Linked DNA regions of Homo sapiens: all the other regions are linked to region 7. Evidence: promoter capture Hi-C in 16 types of primary human blood cells and fetal thymus (Javierre and others, 2016). All regions are on one chromosome and are shown on one strand. Each heading gives the region's core, a stretch centred on a gene start or on the middle of the fragment in contact. The rest is flanking DNA. Distances are from core to core; before and after follow the strand shown. Region 1 overlaps DCTN1-AS1 (DCTN1 antisense RNA 1). Region 2 overlaps TET3 (tet methylcytosine dioxygenase 3). Region 3 overlaps DGUOK-AS1 (DGUOK antisense RNA 1). Region 4 holds the start of SLC4A5 (solute carrier family 4 member 5). Region 5 holds the start of DGUOK-AS1 (DGUOK antisense RNA 1). Region 6 overlaps SLC4A5 (solute carrier family 4 member 5). Region 7 holds the start of BOLA3 (bolA family member 3).

What was found. Contacts are between HindIII fragments. The CHiCAGO score rates a contact against its expected background, and 5 or more counts as called.
Region 1: a fragment that was not itself captured here is called in contact with the fragment with the promoter of BOLA3 in region 7 in 2 of 17 cell types (naive CD8 T cells and naive B cells); the score reaches 6.0 in naive CD8 T cells.
Region 2: a contact is called between a fragment that was not itself captured here and the fragment with the promoter of BOLA3 in region 7, in 4 of 17 cell types (activated CD4 T cells, erythroblasts, naive CD8 T cells and 1 more). The highest score is 7.5, in activated CD4 T cells.
Region 3: a contact is called between a fragment that was not itself captured here and the fragment with the promoter of BOLA3 in region 7, in 7 of 17 cell types (activated CD4 T cells, erythroblasts, naive CD4 T cells and 4 more). The highest score is 9.3, in activated CD4 T cells.
Region 4: a fragment that was not itself captured here is called in contact with the fragment with the promoter of BOLA3 in region 7 in 1 of 17 cell types (activated CD4 T cells); the score reaches 5.6 in activated CD4 T cells.
Region 5: a contact is called between the fragment with the promoter of DGUOK-AS1 here and the fragment with the promoter of BOLA3 in region 7, in 16 of 17 cell types (activated CD4 T cells, naive CD8 T cells, erythroblasts and 13 more). The highest score is 16.2, in activated CD4 T cells.
Region 6: a fragment that was not itself captured here is called in contact with the fragment with the promoter of BOLA3 in region 7 in 4 of 17 cell types (naive B cells, M1 macrophages, total B cells and 1 more); the score reaches 5.7 in naive B cells.

Annotation. Positions count from the first base shown.
Region 1 is chr2:74,397,187-74,399,906 of GRCh38, forward strand. It overlaps DCTN1-AS1 (DCTN1 antisense RNA 1), which reads left to right. Exons shown (of 3, transcript NR_158174.1): 3 at 1-1,482. Among named protein-coding and RNA genes, the nearest start is that of DCTN1-AS1, 13 kb to the left of the region's middle. The HindIII fragment of the contact is 2,857 bases long and covers 1-2,720 here.
Region 2 is chr2:74,018,331-74,021,030 of GRCh38, forward strand. All of the region lies in intron 3 of TET3 (tet methylcytosine dioxygenase 3), which reads left to right. Among named protein-coding and RNA genes, the nearest start is that of TET3, 35 kb to the left of the region's middle. The HindIII fragment of the contact is 1,716 bases long and covers 451-2,166 here.
Region 3 is chr2:73,964,054-73,966,836 of GRCh38, forward strand. The region is part of intron 1 of DGUOK-AS1 (DGUOK antisense RNA 1); the gene reads right to left. Among named protein-coding and RNA genes, the nearest start is that of DGUOK-AS1, 16 kb to the right of the region's middle. The HindIII fragment of the contact is 976 bases long and covers 831-1,806 here.
Region 4 is chr2:74,340,781-74,343,480 of GRCh38, forward strand. SLC4A5 (solute carrier family 4 member 5) reads right to left here and starts at 2,636. Exons shown (of 31, transcript NM_133478.3): 1 at 2,576-2,636; 2 at 1,678-1,754. The HindIII fragment of the contact is 1,336 bases long and covers 698-2,033 here.
Region 5 is chr2:73,980,001-73,982,700 of GRCh38, forward strand. It overlaps DGUOK-AS1 (DGUOK antisense RNA 1), which reads right to left and starts at 1,439. Exons shown (of 2, transcript NR_104030.1): 1 at 1,135-1,439. The HindIII fragment of the contact is 8,489 bases long and covers 1-2,700 here.
Region 6 is chr2:74,319,909-74,322,661 of GRCh38, forward strand. All of the region lies in intron 5 of SLC4A5 (solute carrier family 4 member 5), which reads right to left. Among named protein-coding and RNA genes, the nearest start is that of SLC4A5, 22 kb to the right of the region's middle. The HindIII fragment of the contact is 1,554 bases long and covers 487-2,040 here.
Region 7 is chr2:74,146,575-74,149,274 of GRCh38, forward strand. It overlaps BOLA3 (bolA family member 3), which reads right to left and starts at 1,338. Exons shown (of 4, transcript NM_212552.3): 1 at 1,247-1,338. The coding sequence starts at 1,300. It overlaps BOLA3-DT (BOLA3 divergent transcript), which reads left to right and starts at 1,407. Exons shown (of 3, transcript NR_045636.1): 1 at 1,407-1,649; 2 at 1,776-1,904; 3 at 2,124-2,700. RefSeq lists a silencer at 1,079-1,558 and an enhancer at 1,092-1,751. The HindIII fragment of the contact is 11,442 bases long and covers 1-2,700 here.

The sequences.
Region 1 (2,720 bases), core at 58-2,557, 250 kb after region 7:
AGTGCATCAAGGCAAGAAAAACGTATATAAAAGACATAAAGATTAGAAAGAAGGAAATTAAACTGTCATTTTTCACAGATGATATGATGACTTACATGGAAAAGGCCAAAATAGGCCGGGTGCAGTGGCTCACGCCTGTAATCCCAGCACTTTGGGAGGCCAAGGTGGGTGGATCACTTGAGGTCAGCAGTTCGAGACCAGTCTGGCCAACATGGTGAAACCCCATCACGACTAAAAATACAAAAATTAGCTGGGCATGCTAGCACGTACCTGTAATCCCAGTTACTTGGGAGGCTGAGGCAGGAGAATTGCTTGAACCTGGGAGGGAGGCAGAGGTTGCAGTAAGCCGAGATTGCACCACTGCACTCCAGCCTGGGCGAAGAAGCAAAACTCCATCTCAAAAAAAAAAAAAAAGCCAAAATAATCTGTAAATTATTAGGATTGATTAGAAAATATTTAGCAACGTGACTAGATATAAAATCAACATGCAAAACTCAATTGCATTTCTCTAACCAACAATGAAAAGTTAAATTATATAATTTTTGAAATGAAACTGATGCACCTAGTAATAAACAACAAAATATGTGCACAACCCGGCCAGGCTCAGTGGCTCATACCTGTAATCCCAGCACTTTGGGAGTCCGAGGCAGGCGGATCACAAGGTCAGGAGTTTGAGACCAGCCTGACCAACATGGTAAAACCCCGTCTCTACTAAAAATACAAAAATTAGCCAGGCATGGTGGCACGCGCCTGTAATCCCAGCTACTCAGGATGCCGAGGCAGGGGAATTGCTTGAACCCGGGAGGCAGAGGTTGCAGTGAGCCGAGATTGTGCCACTGCCCTCCAGCCTGAGTGACAGAACGAGACTCCGTCTTAAAAAAAAAGGTGGGGTGGTCAGGCAGGGTAGCTCACGCCTGTAATCCTAACACTTTGGGAGGCCGAGGCAGGCAGATCACTTGAGGTCAGGAGTTCGAGACCAGCCTGGCCAAAATGGTGAAACCCCGTCTCTACTAAAAATACAAAAATTAGCTGAGTGTGATGCCTGTAATCCCAGCTACTTGGGAGGCTGAGACAGAAGAATTGCTTGAACCCGGGAGGTGGAGGCTGCAGTGAGCCGAGATCGCACCACTGCACTCCAGCTTGGGTGACAGAGAGAGACTCCGTCTCAAAAAAATAAAAAAGACTGAGAGATGAGAGATGTGCACAACCCAAAATTACAAAATTATATTTGGAAACATACATTAAAGATAGCCTGTGGCTCACGCCTGTAATCCCAACACTTTGCAAGGCCAAGGCTGGTGGATCACTTGAGGTTAGGAGTTCGAGACCAACCTGGCCAACATGGCAAAACTCCATCTTTATTAAAAATACAAAAATTAGCCGGGTGTGCTGGCACCCGCCTGTAATCACCCAAGAGGCTGAAGCAGGAGAATCGCTTGAACCAGGAGACAGAGGTTACAGTGAGCAGGGATCGTGCCACTATACTCCAGCCTGGGCAAAGAAGCGAGAGTCCATCTGGAAAAAAAAAAAAAGGTAGCTTAAATGAATGAGAGATATAGCACACTTATGAATAGGAAAATTTAAAGTCATAAAGAAGTTAGTTGCCCTGTATTAATAATATGTATTTGAGATAACTCCAATCAATATTCTATCAGGATATTCTAGGAACTTGACAACAAATTAGTAATTTTGTAGAGAAAAGCAAAGGGCAAAAAATTAGCCAGGAAACTTCTGAAAAAAAGAAGACAGTTGACACGGTGAAACCCCATCTCTACTAAACATACAAAAATTAGCCGGGCATGGTGGCGCGCGCCTGTAGTCCCAGCTATTCAGGAGGCTGAGGCAGGAGAATGGTGTGAACCCAGGAGGTGGAGCTTGCAGTGAGCCGAGATTGCGCCACTGCACTCCAGCCTGGGTGACAGAGCAAGACTCCATCTCAAAAAAAAAAAGAGTGTGGCTGTGTGTGTGTGTGCTTATTTTAAAGTTTATTAAGTAAAGCAATATAGTATTGACGTAGGGATAGAAAGAGTCTAGATCTAAAAACAAACTAAAACATATACCTACAAAAACTTCGTTTTTTAAAATTATTATTATTGTTTTAGAGACAGGTTCTCACTCTGTGACCCAGGCTGGAATATAGTAGTGTGATCATAGCCGTAACCTCTAACTCCTGGGCTCAAGCAATCCTTCTGCCTCAGCCTCCTGAGTAGCTAGGATTGCAGGCAGTCATCACCACACCTGGCTAATTTTTTTATTTTTATTTTTGTAGATACGGGGTCTTGCCATGTTGCCTACGTTGGTCTTGAACTCTTGGCCTAAAGTGATTCCCGTACCTTGGCCTCCCCAAGCGCTGGAATTACAGGTGCAAGCCACCACACCAGGCCAAAAACTTAATATATGACAAAATTTGTATTATTGATCAGTGAGGGAAAGATATACCATTCAAAAAATGGTGCTGGGACAATTAGGTATTCAAATGCAAAAGCAAGCAAGAAAGGAAAGAATAAAAGAAGGAAAAAAGGGAGGGAAGGAGGGAGAGAGGAACAAATTAAGTGCTTCCATTTCTGGTGCTACCGTGGACTAAATATTACGGAAACTTCTGATATACTGCAACTAAAAATGCTGGATATAATATTTAACAACCACACACACTCTTTCACCATAGGGATTCCCAGTCCACCCCCTTAACTTTCTGAGTCACTCTGTGACCCTGCCAGCTA
Region 2 (2,700 bases), core at 59-2,558, 130 kb before region 7:
AACTTCTGTTACGTTTTGAAAAAAATTTTGGCCTGTTTGTCTTTCATTGTGTCTATCATAAAAATTTGATTTTTATACAACGAGAATTCATCAGTATTTTGGCTTTTCTTACTTAAGTTTTATTTTAGATGTTCAGATTTCTAAGGTGAGATTTATTTTTGCATGCGATATAAGATAGGGATTGAACTTTTCCTAAATAGAAAGCCTGTTATCCCCAATCTATTTATTGGGTATTTGTAGTTTCCCTTGTAGTGTATGAATTCTACCTTAAGCATTTCATAAGTACTCTTACAGTCATGGGTGTTTTAAGGCCTCTTTTTACTTCCATTGACTTATTTGTCTGATTCTGTGTATTTCATTGTTTTAATTACCACCATTTTTATATAATACTTTGGTTTAAAACATACTTCTTACTTTTTTTTTTTTTTTTGGCATTTCTTTCTCCAAATAAGCTTATAAACAACTTACCATGTTCTGCGAAAAATACTGGGATTTTTCAGTTGGAATCACATGAAACGTACAGGTTATTTTGGGGAGAATAGATAGCTTTACAATGAATCTTCCTATCCAGAGAAAGGGAAGTAGACCTTTCCGTTTATTCTAGTCTTTTTTGTGTGTTCATCAAAGTTTTAAGGCCAGGTGTGGTGGCTCATGCCCCATAATGCCAGTGCTTTGGGAGGCTGAGGCGGGAAGACTGCCTGAAGCCAGGAGTTTGAGATCAGCCAGGGTAACATAGTGAGACCCCCCGCCAACCCTCATCTCTACAAAAAATAAAAACTAGCTGGGTGTGGTGGCGCATGCCTGTAGTCCCAGCTACTTGGGAGGCAGATGTGGGAGGATCGCTGTAGCCCAGGAGTTGGAGGCTGCGGTGAGCTATGATCTGGCCACTGCACTCCAGTCTGGGCGACAGAAGGAGACTCTGTCTCTAATAAAAACCAAACAAACAAAATAAATGAAACGTTTTAAGGTTTTCTTCTTACACATTTCTTGTGAAGTTTCTTCCTAGATATGCTGTAGCTGCTGTTGTTGCTGTTGGGAATGGGATCTTTTCTGTTATACTTTGTATCCCATCTTTGCCCGCATATTAGAAATGCAGCTGCTCTGTGCTGCCTCTTCTGACACTTCTGTCCCTTTCTCCCTCAAGTCCTCATGGTATATTGTCTGTACCTCCGTGGCAATACTGTGTGCCTGAGTGTGAGTTCCCAGTGGTGGGGTGCTCATCTCACTCCATTTCATGTCACCAGTACCTGGCACAAAGCCTAGCATGCGGTAAATCCTTTTAATAAACGCCGTGGCATCAGATTGATGAGAGGGACAGTGAGCTTCACCTCTTCAAAGTGTGACAGCCTGGGCCAATGTGAGCAGCAGAATCTCAAGCAGCCCTGGCTCCAGGCCCTGCAGGCTGTGATCTGGATAACAGATTGGGCACCCTCCTTGTCCCCGCAGGAAAAAGGAGGTCCTGGGCCATTTTTCCACGTGCAGACATCAGGGAGGAGCCCTCTGAGCCTCTATCTCATTATTATCCTGAGACCCACAGCCCCCTTGTTGTTAGCCCTCATTAGTGCTAACTAGTTGGGAGAACTGCTTTCTTAGCTTCCAATCATTTCAAGGTAGCACAAACAAACTTATCTGCAGCTTCCCTTAGGGGATGAGGACTCATCAAGGCTGGAAGCAGAGCTTGTACAGAACATTGTGAGATGGGTTCACACCTATGTGCCCAGTCACCTTCTCTCATATGGTAGTGCCTTTCTTTTTTCTTCTACTATTCTCCTCCAGAGTATATGCATCCCCCCAACCCAGTATGTCCTACGTGAAGTTTATTCCTATCCGTGTGCTAATCTTTACCATAGCGTTTGCATTTGTTTTTCCCTTGAGACAGAGTCTCACTCTGTCACCAAACCTGGAATGCAGTGGCATGATCTTAGCTTACTGCAATCTCTGCCTCTGGGTTCAAGTGATCCTCCCACCTCAGCCTCCCTAGTAGTTGGGACTACAGGTGCATACCACCACACCCAGCTATTCTTTGTATTTTTTTAGAGATGGGGTTTCACCATATTGCCCAGGCTGGTCTTGATTTCTGGGGCATAAGTGGTCTGCCTGCCCAAAGTGTTGGGATTACAGGCATGAGCCACAGTGCCCAGGCTTGGTGTTTGCATTTTATATGTAAGCTTTTGTTTGTAATTGGGGAATGGCAGGCACTATTCCTTGATGGAGCTGTCTGGGGCATGCCAATTCACTCTGTACCCTTGGCAGTGGTTCCAGACTCTCAGGTCCCTGCCCCCACTGGTCTCTGCTGCCCCTGGAGCAAGGATGGTGATGTCTACCTGCCTTGGAGGGACCCAGGAACAAGGGAACTCCCACCTCTTGTTCAAGGGCTTGAGGGCTATGCCCTTGGAGAGAAGGGAATCCCTGCTGTTGTTAAGCAGGGGTCAGGATTTCTGCCTCTCAACATGCATAAAAAGAAGGTGGGAGTGAGGACGTGAGCTGATTTCTAATCCCTCTCTAGCAGTTGTGCATCTGGTTCAGCGTGTCCCGGGGTTTCCCTGGGTTTTGCTTGACCGCAGCAGTAAGCTGTTCCTCATTTATCCCGTGGTCTGTGCTCACCCTCCCCTTCCCACTCACTCATCTCCCATGCTCAGGGTGGCAGAGGACATAGAAATGCTTCTCTGGCTCCTCTGCTGGTTTGTTTTAATCCCTGGG
Region 3 (2,783 bases), core at 69-2,568, 180 kb before region 7:
TCGACTTTCTCGCCAACTTCGACTTTCTCACCCACTTCGGTTATCTACTCAGAACCAATCTGGTTTCACCTACAGCCTACCCCCACTCTCATTATTCTGAAGCAAATCCCAAACAGGAGGATGTCTTTTAAAGCTAGAGCTATATCAAACTATGGATTTCACAACCCGGATCCCTTATGCTCAATGGGTACAAAACAGTTCTCCCCACCCGCATACCCACCACCAACCCTACCCCAACCCAGCCAGCAAAGCCATTTCCCCTGCTTCTCCATTCACCCCGTTGGCCACATTAAAAACCTTGGTGTTATCTTTGACCCCCCACTTACACTCATTCTCAACAAATTCTGCCTATTCATCTCTGAAATCTTTCAAATCTTCTCTGCACCTGTTTCTGTCTCTCTAGTTGAAGGTGTAGTGGAAATTGTGGTTGACTCCCCAGCATTCATCCCACCTCTCCTCCTCTTCCATAGCAGTCATATGGTCCCCATTGTAGCAGTGGCCATGCCTAGGAATGGCAGGAATGGCCCCTCCCCTGCCCCCCAATTACTACTACCAGTAATCATTTCTTCCCCAAGCCACATCAACTAAATGATGTATAAAAAAGAACAGTGGTTGCTAGGTCAGGTCACCTGCCCCACCCCTGCCACCAGAGAGCTGCCCCTCAGCCTCTCCTATGTGGAGGTATGAGAGCTACCATGTTTTTATAACCCTATCTCCCATCACTCCTACCATAAACCCCACGAGACCACCCATAGCTTCAGATGTGTTTTCCCACATGACAAAATGTTTCTCTCTCTCTCTTTCTCTCCCACCCCCCACCCACCACCCCAAGCTTTTACACTGGAAGAACTACTCACCCTGCCAGGCCCAAGCCCACCATTCCTCTCTCTGTGGAGCCCTTCCCTCACCCCACACCATGTCCAGTCTTTGTGCCCTTGAGCACCCTGTTTATTAAACTTCTGTCAAACGTGTCATACCTGAATGAAAGTTGTCTGGAGACATCTCTTTGATGTCCTTGGCCTTGACCTTCTTGACATAGACCATGTCTTGGTCATTTAGTACAATGCCTGGCATTTATTTATTTATTGCTGTTTCATGAGTGCCTAACATAGACTTTTAAATAAAGAAATTATTGACTGGAGACACGCTCCGCCCTTTCTCAGGTTCCTGGGTTATTTGTGAGCTCTATATTACGATCATCAATTGAGGAAGTCCCTTCTGTGTACTAAGCACTGAGAATATGCAAGAAATTTGGGGCCTGGACTCTACTCTTAAATTGTCAAAGGAGTTGATGATTATCAGATGCCTACTGTGTGCCAGCTACCCTACTGAACACTTTCTAAATGTTATTCAACCCTCTCAATAATCCTGTGAAGGAGGTTTAAGGTGCCAGTTTTTACCAGTGAGGAAACTGAAGCTCAGAGTTCAGTAACTCAACGAGAGTCCCACAGTAACTGACAGCGCTGGGACTCACACCTAGGTCCATCCTGACTCCAGAGCCTGTTCTCTGCATAACACCAAACCATTACATAAGGGAGATAAGACTAGATTTTCAGAAAAGAAGGCAAGCAAGCATTTCCTTGGCTGCCTGTCTGGATTTACCAGCCAAATTTTGTAGCCTGGGCAGGAAAACCTAGTTTGCCAGCACTGCTAGGTGGAGGCCACCAGGTGCATCTTAGCTGTGCCTTTGGCCCCTGGGTCCCTGAACAGGTGGAGAGATGTTTCTGGGGGGCTAGATTTTCTCTTCTCAGCAACTGCACCTTCATAAAGTGCCCTTCAGGCACTAGCCATTAGAATGTATGTGGAAGCTTGGTGAAGGTTCTGGAGTGTCTTTACAGATGCCTTCTACTCCACTTCCCAGCTCACCCTTTATGTTGCTATCAGATGATTTTCTTAAAACACCTTTATTTTTTTTAAATTTATTTTTATTTTTATTTTTTGAGACAGCGTTGCTCTGTCGCCCAGGCCAGAGTGCAGTGGCATGATCTCAGCTCGCTGCAACCTCCGCCCCCTGGGTTCAAGTGATTCTCCTGCCTCAGCCTCCCACGTAGCTGGGACTGCAGGTGCACACTACCATGCCTGGCTAATTTTTTTTTTTTTTTTTTTTTTGGTATTTTTAGTAAACACCACCATGTTGGCTAGGCTGGTCTCAAATTCCTGACCTCAAGTGATCCACGCACTTCAGCCTCCCAAAGTGCTGGGACTGCAGGTGTGAGCCACCACACCCAGCCTAAAAACCTTTAATCATGTTAATATTCTTCTTTAAAAATGTTGGTGGCCGGGCGTGGTGGCTCACACCTGTAATCCCAGCACTTTGGGGGGCTGAGGTGGGCAGATCATGAGATCTGGAGTTCGAGACCAGTCTGCATAGAGAAACCCCATCTCTACTAAAAATACAAAATTAGCTGGGTGTGGTGGCGCATGCCTGTAATCCCAGCTGCTTGGGAGGCTGAGGCAGGAGAATCATTTGAACTCAGGAGGCGGAGGTTGTGGTGAGCAAAGATGGTGCCATTGCACTCCAGCCTGGGCAACAAAAGCGAAACTCCAACTCAAAAAAAAAAAAAAAAAGTTGGTATCCAAATGCACAGTGGTATCCTGAATTGGATCCTGGAACAGATCAAGTTCGTTAGTGGAAAATACTAGTGAAATCCAAATCAAGTCTGGAGTTTAATTGATGTAACTTGTCAGTTTTCACAAGTGTACCATGTCATGTGAGATGTTAGCATTAGGGGAATCTGGATGAGGGATACACAGAAACTCTGTGTTGTCTTTGCAATTTTTCT
Region 4 (2,700 bases), core at 116-2,615, 190 kb after region 7:
GGAAGAGTGGAAACCAGGGACTCCCCATCCAGACCACCATCCACCACGGGCCTCTGTTCTTTAGCAGCACCAGAAGAGGCTCCACTCCAAGTCAAGATTGAAGTGGTATCTTTAGGTAGGACTGGAAATTATAATTATTAAAATGAGACTGAGACCAAGGGTGGCTGGAACAACCTTGTGACTTGCCTAAATTCCATTCAGGGGCAAAGCAAGAGCTAGTCCCACCGAATAAATGTAAAAGAGGCTGGGTGCAGTGGCTCACGCCTGTAATCTCAACACTTTGGGAGGCCGAGGTGGGTGGATCGCCTGAGGTCAGGAGTTCGAGACCAGCCTGGTCAACATGGTGAAACCCCATCTCTACTAAAAATACAAAAATTAGTTGGGCGTGGTGGTGGGTGCCTACAACCACAGCTACTCAGGAGGCTGAGGCAGGAGAATCGCTTGAACTCAGGAGGTGGAGGTTGCAGCGAGCCAATTATTGTGCCACTGCACTCCAGCCTAGCGACAGAGCGAGACTCCATCTCAAAAAAAAAAAAAAAAAAAGAGTAAATGTAAAAGAGCAGTAAGAGACAAAAATCAAGCTGCTTTCTGATTTTACCACATAAGTCATGTTTGTTCAATGGAACAGTGCACATTAGCTTTAATTGTTAATTAACACGCATCTGTTAAATAACCTTGTATCTGACTTTGGATTTTAAGCTTTCTGAGGGCAAGGACCATGTGCTGTTTAACCCCACACTGTTCCCACAGCCTGGCAAAGTGCCTCAAATTTACACAGGGGGCACTGAGATGGCTGCTGAGTGAATTGCTGACCAAGAGGGACTGCCCCACATCAGGCAGCCCATGCCATTACTGTGCTCACACTGTGCCCGACACAGAGCAAGGGATCATAAGTCCTGGGTGGCTTGAATTGACTCTTCCTAAAAAAAGAGTCTGTGATCTAGGAAGTCCAATATAAAAAGATGTTGCGGATTGCCCAGACTTAGAGTAAGAGGGGCAGAAATGAAGTAGGCATGGATGGTAATTTTGTTTTTCCATCAGGGCTGCTCTTACTCTGGAGTAAGGAGAGGAAGGCTAAGACACAAAAGGGGGACTCCGCCCAACCCAGCTTATGTCCTGTGATACCAGAAGGGAGCATTGCAATGACCTATTAAACCTCAAACCAAGCTGAATCCATTTCTGAGTAAGAGACTCTTACAGGGCTCCTGTCCTCAAAACTATATAAAATTGCTCAAATTATGTACTTCTGAGATAATAAATTAGCAGAAGAAGCACATAGCCCACCTCTTAAGATAGGGAAGTAGATCTGAAGTAGCTCAAGAAACAAAGTTTTCTACAGATGAAGGATGAGGGAAGGAAACCCAAGACCAGTTGATTCTGGTTTGGGAAATGATAACACTGGAGAACACACTCTACTATCTGTTTCTTGTGACATCCTTTGTGCTAAAGTTATCTCCTTTGTTGGCATGGCCACCATCCCTACTTCTAGTGCAGTGGAGATGTATGAGTGTCTCCATTGCTAAGTGTTTAGTTACTCAAGATAAACTTGACTGGAGAGGGTGTGGGCAGGCATTCAGTCAAGCAACAAGCCACTCACTGAGTGCCACCAATGGTGTGGGAAAAGATGACTCTCCTTAGACTGGTCCATCCAAAATAAAGGAGGTGGGGAGAGCATACCTGGGTGGTCTTCAGGGTACTCCTGGAAACATCCATCAGCTCATGAGCTCACAGCTGAATTCCAAATCCTGGGATGCCTGCTTGGAGGGAGGGTAAAACACCATTTCTCAGGGACAGAAGCCCACAAAGCTAAGGGCACTGGGTTTCTAAGTCAGGATTTCATCACGGCTGGATGACCCTTTTTTAAGGAAAGCCAGCTGATCTCCAGGACTCCTGATACATAAGAGCTATGCAGTCTGTCACTTCTAGGGAGAGAGATGGGGACTAGCTCTGGTTCCTCATGCGTTCCTTCCCTCTCACTCCCTAAAGACCTCAAGAAACAGATCCTTGGTAACAATGCCTTCTTTGGGCCAGAAAGCTTAGTTGAAGTGTGGATTCTTATACAAGTCTCATGTTTTCTGGACTCCTAGGAGACTCAGAGGAGACACCATAGGTAACCCTTATTGAACTGGAAGAAGTGTGAAGTACTATCAACCACTGAGACTCCCATGGCTCAAGAATATGCACAGAGGTCTAACTAGATATAGGTCTCAGCCCCTGACTTTAGAAGTCTGACATTCCACAGATATGCACACACTACACGCTCCCCTCACAGAGGAAACTGGAGTAGGGGGACACAGCAGAACAAAATCGCAACACTACTACAGGAAAACCTCGTCATTCCGTTACTTGTCCTTTGCTATGTTGGAATACTTATAGATTAGTTTCAACAATCAGGTTACTCCTTATCTTTGCTCTAAGTCTTGTACAGGCCTTTAGCAAAAAGCAATAAAATTCTCATCTGACTCTTGGTGGGCTGGGGAATCTGCCTATTCTATTCAGTTGGTTCACTCACATCTCCAAACCAGAACCTACAACCACTCTGTAACTTTATTTATGTAAAATCCACTCTACTTACCCCAGTGCAGTGGCCTGTGGCTCCTGGGCCCTGACTCCAATTCCTTTAGGGTGGACCTTGCAGTTGGAACCATCCACCTCTCGTTTTTTCTATCTCTGCTATTAACATAGCCCCTCCTCTATTGC
Region 5 (2,700 bases), core at 189-2,688, 170 kb before region 7:
TCCAGCACAATCTAACTGATCCTGACTGATACACCCTGTCAACCAAGGCTCAGGGGCACCAAGGCCTTTATCCCTGTTGGGTATTCCTTCCATTATGATGGGTACCCTTGCATTCTCCTTGCAAGTAATGAAGCCTATTTGATTCAAAAAATTCAAAATGCAGTCACAAAACTAGTTATAAAACATGAGGACATTTGCGGGGCTATTGAAAAACGTAGTAGCCGGGCGCGGTGGCTCACTCATGTAATCCCAGCAGTTTGGGAGGTCGAGGTGGGTGGATCATGAGGTCAGGAGTTCAAGACCAGTCTCTACTAAAACTACAAAAATTAGCTGGGCGCGGTGGCAGGTGCCTGTAATCCCAGCTACTCGAGAGTCTGAGGCAGGAGAATCATTTGAACCTGGGCAGCAGAGGTTACAGTGAGCCCAGATCGCGCCACTGCACTTCAGCCTGGGTGACAAGAGTGAGACTCCATCTCAAAGAAAAAAAAAAAACCAAAACCCAAAACCAAAACAAAACAAAAAACCCAAAAACGCATAGCATAGATATCCTACACGTGTCACACTCACCAATGCAGGTCCACAAGCAACCCACTAATGAACCTCCCTTTCCCTGAGAGCAAAATGCCAGCTTCTGCCTGGTATCAGCTCTAGCATTCGTGGGCTAATTTCAGAGGTCCTGGATTGTAGGTCCTGGATTCTGACATGTAGTAGTGAATGACCTTGGACAAATTACCTCACTGAGCGCCAGTTCTCTTATCTGTAAAATGGTGATGATAATAAAAACTATGTCATAGATAAGGAAAGTTAACATTTGCACATTTGTTGTATTTGCCACTCTGTGCAGACAGAAGGATAATGTGTGTGGAAGTGCTTTGAAAAGGGAAAGATCTATGCAAATATTAGTTGATAATATTTTTAGCCAATACATGACCAAAGAAGTAATACATCCAAAATCAAATAAACCTCCCAATACCTTCAGTCTTTAAAACCAAGCCCAGGTATGGATATCGGGATGTATTTACATTTCTGCAAAAGGTCCCCATACGCAAATCTCATTCTTAAATAAGGACAAATTACTCATTAGCTGAAGAGGAGAGAGGTCAAGTACCTGAGGAGGTTAGTCACATCAATCACCTGAGAGTTCAGCAGCATCCAACAGTGTTAGTTCCACGTGTTAACTTCCTGAAGAACCACAGGCTTGCACATCCAATTATGCTTCCTGTCCCTTTCCTCCCCCGTGCGGAATCAACTTCAGCTCATCAATGGGGTAGGAAAGCCTCCTTATTTCGCACCCTCCATGCTCCAGGCATCCAGGGAAATGCCCCTGCCACCCCTATCTCCCTTGAGTTCTTAGGGCTTCCTCCTCTAGCAAGGAGATTTCCCTTTCTAGTCCCGGGGGCAGCGGCACAGCCCGGCTCTGACCTCGCGGGAGCAGTCGCCTAAAAGAGGCTCCGCCCTTGGCCGCTTGGGGTGGCGCCCGCCAAACCCGCTCCTAAAAGGAGCCTCTCTCCCTCTGTCTGCTCTAAGCGCCTTGGGGGCCTAATCGCAGTCTCCACCTGGGTGCTGAACTTCCTTCTCCCCCGCTTGCTGTAGTCCAGTGCTGCTCTAACTTGACTTCACCTGACGGACTAATTAAAACAGATTGCTGGGCCCGCCCCCAGGGTTTCTGATTCAGTGGGGTTAGGATGGGGCCGAGAGCTTGCATTTCTAGCCAGTTCCCAGGAGATGGTGATGCTGCTGGTGCCGGGGCTCTCTTGGCGGAACCACTGCGTCTAGGCTAATGCAGCCCCAGGAAGGGCTCGCCCTATCCCTACGCCCACCCCCGCTGCTCTCCTGCCCTGAGCGCAATGTGAATGGGAATAGCCGCAGCAGCCCAGGAGGCTGGAGAACCAGAAGGCAGGACCTGAGGAGTTTAGGCTGTTTTATCTTGGGCGCCCCTGACCAGTTTGTGCAAGTCGTAAAGAAAGCAGGAAAGAAGCCTATGGGTCTTCAGTGTTACTGGGGTCTGTCATTCATTAGGGTCTACTCACCTCGTCTCTTCATTCAACACAGTGGTTGGTTGCTAGGTCTAGGGTTATGAGGTGAAAGACAGCGTGCTACCCTTCCAGGAGTTTGTAGTAACTGGGAAAGAAACATGCAAACCATTCCAGTGCCCAGCGCCGATGAGATAACTGTTCCTAGGCAGGGAGAGTCAAACTTCTGTGGAGGGAGAGTGGGTGGGGCTCTGGAATCATCTGAGCAGCTGGAGGTTTCATGGAACTGGCACTTATGACTTGCAGGATGAGTGGGAATTTGGCAGGTACAAGGGGTAGCTGAGAAGGGGTGGGGTGGGAAGGGTTTTTCCCCAGGCAGAAGGAATGAGCAACAGGACTGCCGAAGTGTAAGGTTCCAGAGGCCGGGAAGATATGACAGGCAGCTCTCTAGCCTGGCTGGGTTCCCTCCAACCTCTCTGGCGGCGCCTTCTCAGCTCCTGTCCCTCATGGGCTGGTATTCCCTGGGGCTCTGTCCTGGCAGCCTTTCCCTCTCACACTCCATATCCACCCTGGATGAGCTCCTCCACAACTGAGGCCTCGCTGTCTGCTCACTGATGGGGCCCAAATCTCAAACCCAGGCCTCACCCCCTCAGTTGCACACTCACTTTCACACGAATGTCTCCATCCCCAGGCATCCTTCCTTCTGCATTTTGTCACAGTGAATGGC
Region 6 (2,753 bases), core at 14-2,513, 170 kb after region 7:
AGAGGAAATCACAACAGAGACAAGAAAAGACATTGTATTCATGACGACAAGAAAAGCAGAATGCTATAAACCTATGAACCTATAAGTTTTTAAAGAATAAGACAGAACTTTTCGAAATTAAAAATACCTTAGAAGAAAATTTTCAATAAAAGACTTGGAACATAAATTTGAAGGAGTATATCAGATAATAGAACACAAATAAAAAGAGATTAAACAAATACTATGACAAAACAAGAAAACCAGAGGATCAATCCAGGAGGCCCAAACATCAAAATAATAGGAGTTCCCAAAAGAGAGATAAAAAAATAGTGGAGAGAAAATTACCAATGAAATAACATGAGAATACCTTCCAGAACTGAAAGATCTGGAAGAATTTTCTGATTGAAAGAACTTTCGATCAGCTCAGAAAAAATTAATTTTTAAAAAATCCACTCCAAGTCACATCATTATGAAGCATTAGGACTTCATGGATAAAGAAATCTTAAAAGCTTCCAGAAAAAAATAAGTCATCTACCAAGAATCTGAAACAAGAATTGATATCAGATTTCTCAATCACTACAGTGGAAGCTACAAGACAATGAAGTCATGCTTCCAAAAGTGAGACAAAATTATTTCCAACCTAGAATTCCAGTCCCAATCAAGCTATCAATCAAGTGGGAGGGTAGAATAGGGGCATTTTCAGACATAAACTATCTCAAAAATTTACCTTCGATGCACCTTTTTTTCAGGAAGTGACTGAAGGAGGAACTCTAGCAAGATGAAGGACTTGCACTAAGAAAGAAATTAAGTCTGGGAAACGGGATTCACCACAAAAGATAGGCAAAGGAAAGTCACCGGAGAAGAACCCTGCAGCAGTCCAGAGAGCAACAGGCACATCTTAGAGCAGGCTCTGGACAGGATGTCTTCAGGAAAAAAACCTGGATCTGAAAAATGGTCTTGATGTGTTTGACTGTTGCAAGAGGATACAAAAACTTTGTCAAGAATAGTCATAGAAAGGAAAAGTAATCATGGTACACTATACTCAACTGTGAGCAATATTTACACAGTCATAATAAATCAAGTGAGTGTTAATTTTCCTGAAAACAGCAATAGAAACAGGGTTGATATTCCACCGATACGCATTGGTATGGCTGCTATTTATGATTGGTGTCCATTTTTAGTGATCAGGTATTCATTTGGGTTGGTCAATGTCAGTGCCATGTTGGTTGTTAAATATTTTGAATATCACCACTGGATGTAACTATTTGGGGAGTATAAAACACCTGTGGAGGATGCTGCTAGTTACTTCCCTGATGCCCATTCCCCTTTCTGCTCTGACTTTCTGACTTCTGCTCCAGCCACAGTAGCACTATGGCCAACTAAAAAGAAACACTTCCCTCAGACACCCTTCAGCTCTCTCTGGCTGAAGAGCTACAGGAGAAAGAACCTGAGGAAGGAGTCCCTTCCTAGATAAAGCATTTTCAGAAGAAAGCCTCTTCACTTTTCCTTCTTCTTCCTTCCTGGATAGAGTTGCCAGGTTTAGCAAATGAAACTACAGTTTGCCCAGTTAAATTTGAATTTCAGATAACAACAAATAACTTTGAGTATATGTTCAGCACAATATTTGGGATATACTTCTACTAAAAATTATGTGTTGACAAAGGTGACCCAGATGTGGTTACTGAAAACCACACCTGGGTCATCTGACAAAGGACTCTGGGAAAGTAAGTTTTTACTGGGAAAATAATATTGAGTCTGTCAGTAAGGGAAAAAGGGAGAATGCGCATTGGGTAGTCATCTAGCATGTCTCCTACACTGTCCAACAACCATTCCCTCTTCTGCTTGCCTATTTACAAAACTTTATTTTGTTCAGGTAGAGACACAGGGCCCTTGATTGCCAGTAGTCACCTTCCCTAGGCTCAGGCATGAGCTGGGATCTATATAAACCATTCACGGTATTCTGGTTGCCCTTAGCCAGTCACTGAGTTTAGGAATAGTCATGTGACCCTATTCTAGCCAATGAGATTTAGGTGGAAGTCCATTGGGTAAGACTTTCAGGAAAGCTTTTATTTTCCTAATTGAAAGTGACACAGTTGGAATGCACAGTTTGTCCTTTACCCTCCTGCTTTCTTGCACGGACCTTGAGACTTTGAGATAAAGCAGCCATCTTGCAACAATGAGGTGACAGGTATGAAGACCAAAGGCACAGGCTAAGAACAAGGCAGAAGGATAAGACAAATCTGGGTTCCTGAGAATATCACTGAGCTCTGGACTGCTTATTGCTGGATTTCCTGTTATCTGAAAAAAAAAAAAAATCTCTATATTTAAACTGCTAGCCAAGTTTTATGTTACTTTTAGCTGAGGCCTTCCTAACTGACACATAATGGATGACTATGGACAGTTGAAATTAATGAACTAGATTTTTATGTATTAACATGTATAAATCTCAAAAACATAATGAGAACAAAAGGAAGTTGTAAAAGAAAATGATATTATTTACATAAAACTTTAAAACAAACAAAACACTACCAATATTGATTATAGTTACATTTATAAGTAATAAAATCATAAAATTATGTAGAGGAATGATACACACCAACTTCAGGTTACTTCTGGGGAAGGATAAGGTTAATGATGCTTGATGATCTTTGGTATTTTGGATAGATGATAGATATACATGTAGATATGAAACGAATATGATAAAATGTTAACATCTGTTAATTCTGGACAGTAATATATCAATATTTGTCATATTGTACACATTTGAGGTATTT
Region 7 (2,700 bases), core at 88-2,587:
TGATGGAAGCACCGGGCACTGGTCCCTGACTAGACGTGGATGACAGGTTGGAGGACACTAGGGCCGTTCATGGGTGCTGGTGCTGAAGGTCCCACCCCTCTACCCCTCAGTCCTTCCTGATAGCTCAGAGCAGGGTCCTGTGTCACAGAATCTCAGAGCACCTCCTTTAAAATGAGCTGTGCACTGGCTCTCTCACCACTGGTCTTATAGGCCAGGAATGAGTCCGGCAGCATCCCAGAGCTGACCCCAGGGCAGGCCCTCAGAGGCACTTGGTGCTGGATGAATGAATGAGCAGGGGAAGAACTAGTCAATTAGGGACAGAAATGCAAGACAGGAGAAAGGTCCAGAGTGTGATTGTCTGCCTGCTGTGTGGAGGGACAGAAACTCGATGTTGAGAGGCTGGACAGGATTGCCAGGAGTGAGGGTGGGGTGGAGCTGCTTCTGGGGGCAGAATCTTGAGGGTAAAGGCAGAGAGTAACCAGATGGCAGACAGAATCGGCAGCTACTAAGGGGTGAGAGAGGTGAGCGTTGCAGAATCCTTGGGAGAAGCCTTTCATCTTAGCGGATCTGTGGGCAGCGGCCTTTAGTGGAACAATCAACTGACATCCCCAGATGATCACTGTCCACGCTGAAAGTCACCGCAGTGGAAGAACTTCTCTTCATGCACAGGGCAGGCAGGTTCAGAACCAGGGGAGAAGGAAAATGAAAGTTAAGAGAAAGAATGGTATGAGCTGAAGCAAAGGATGGTTCAGAAAGGGGGAGAGATTAGGAGAGCGCGTGGGAAGTGCCCCCTGCTTGGGTTCTGCTCCGGTAGTGTGGGATTTGGAGGAGGATCAAGGTCAGAGGCCCAGTCGACCTTCCCAAGGCCCCGGCCCCGCTGCAGTCCCTCGCACCCACGCCTTGACTCTGGGCTATGACTCCTGTCTTCTGCTCGGTAAACCAATCCTTTTTTTTTCCTGTGCCCGCAGTATTATGACTGTTCATGTGTCTGTCCGCCTGACCTCCAACCTCCACCCAGCTCGGGAGCTCCCCTAGAGCGCGCCAGAGCTTGAAATTTCGAATGCCGTTGTCGCTGAGTGAATGAATGAATGAAAGAATGAATGAGAGAAAGGAAGAGGAGCCCCCCATTGCCAGTGCCGCGCGCGCCCTCCGGGAGCCAGTCCTCAAGCCCCGACAGCCGCCGGCCCCGCGGTCCCTCCGCAGCTCCCGTCCCGGGGAGAGCAGCCCCGACCCTGCCCACGCTCACCCCGCGGATCCCGCGGAGGAGAGGCGCTGCCGCGGCCGGGCTCCATGCAGCCATGCCCGGCCGACGTGACCCGCCGCCCGAGGTCACTGTATGCCCGAAAGACGCGGAGCGGGGGACCGAGAGCCGCCGCCGTGGGAGAGGCCGCCCCCTGCCGCCCGGAGGCCGTCAGCCTCCCGGCCCCGCCCCGGAGGCCTCCGGTCGCCTGGCTCCGGCCCCACCCCGCCATCCCCTGGCCCTGGCTGACTCGCCACCCCCGACACTGCAGCGCCTGCCGACCTCGGGGCCCCGCCCTCTGCCTTCGCTCGCGCCGCTCTCCTTCAGTCTCCCCAGGGCCTGTTTCATGGATAGGGTCCCCTTGCCCGCGTGAAAGTCTCATTCCTCCTCAGCTCAGAAACACTCCAAGGTCTCGGCGCCCTATACTGGCCTTCCCTCATCCGAATACCCCTCGTGCTCCTGATGTACTTTTCCATTCCCACTCCCTACTCTGGCAGTCTAGCTTCTAAGCTGAGGAGTTTGGCCTTCGCTCCAGGTGCGGGGACTCGTGGAAGGATTTGATTCGCGCTTGAGAAAGATCGCTCCGCTCCTGTAAGGAAGAGAGCGTGTAGGGGCTGCAACCAGAGACACAGTCAGAAGCTCCGAGGCTACCGCGATGGTCCAGGTGAGAATGGAGGGGCCTAACTAAACCAGTGGCGGGAGGGATGGAAGAATGAACTGAGACACTTGGGAGGTGAATGGAATCGAGCGACTGCATGTGGAGGTGTGAGTGGGAAGGTATCTGAGATGACTCCAGTTTCTGGCTTGGACAATGACTTGGATGGAGGGTTAGGTGGGGGCTGAGCAGAGTCCACGAACAGTTCTTAATTTGCCTGAGTTTAAGGTGCCACAGGACACAGCCTAACAGAGGCCCAGGTTGGAGCCATGGACCATGGAGTCATGAGAATGGAAGGGAAGCTGACGCCATGTGGGATGGGGTAGAACTGTCCGCAAATTCGTCCCGCCTCTGGAGTCTTCAGACCAGTCAAGGCCGAAATTCAACCAAGCCTCTCCTCTCTCTAGCTGTTATTTGTTTGCAGCACGCGGTCTGGTGGCACCCTGCAGGATTTACCAGCTTTTTGCCAACATTCTGGCCTATGCAATCAATACGTCCCTTCAGCGTTGCACTTGGATGGATTGGACCTATAGTTGTTATATATGGATATTGTCTAATTTATTTATTACAGTATTAACTGACTCCTATGTTCTGGCCTTCAGAATTTCTCCTTTGGATCAATTACTAGCCTGTCTTACATTTTCTGCTTCATTCTTTTAAAATGTTTAGAGATGATTTGCTAAGTTTTCTTCATTGCTGTCAATGATGCAATTTAAACTGTCAAAAAAATTTTTTCTCAAGCAGGGTAGTAATGGTGAACCATTCCCTTGCTATTCAGACAGCATGGTTTAGATGAGGCGCACCT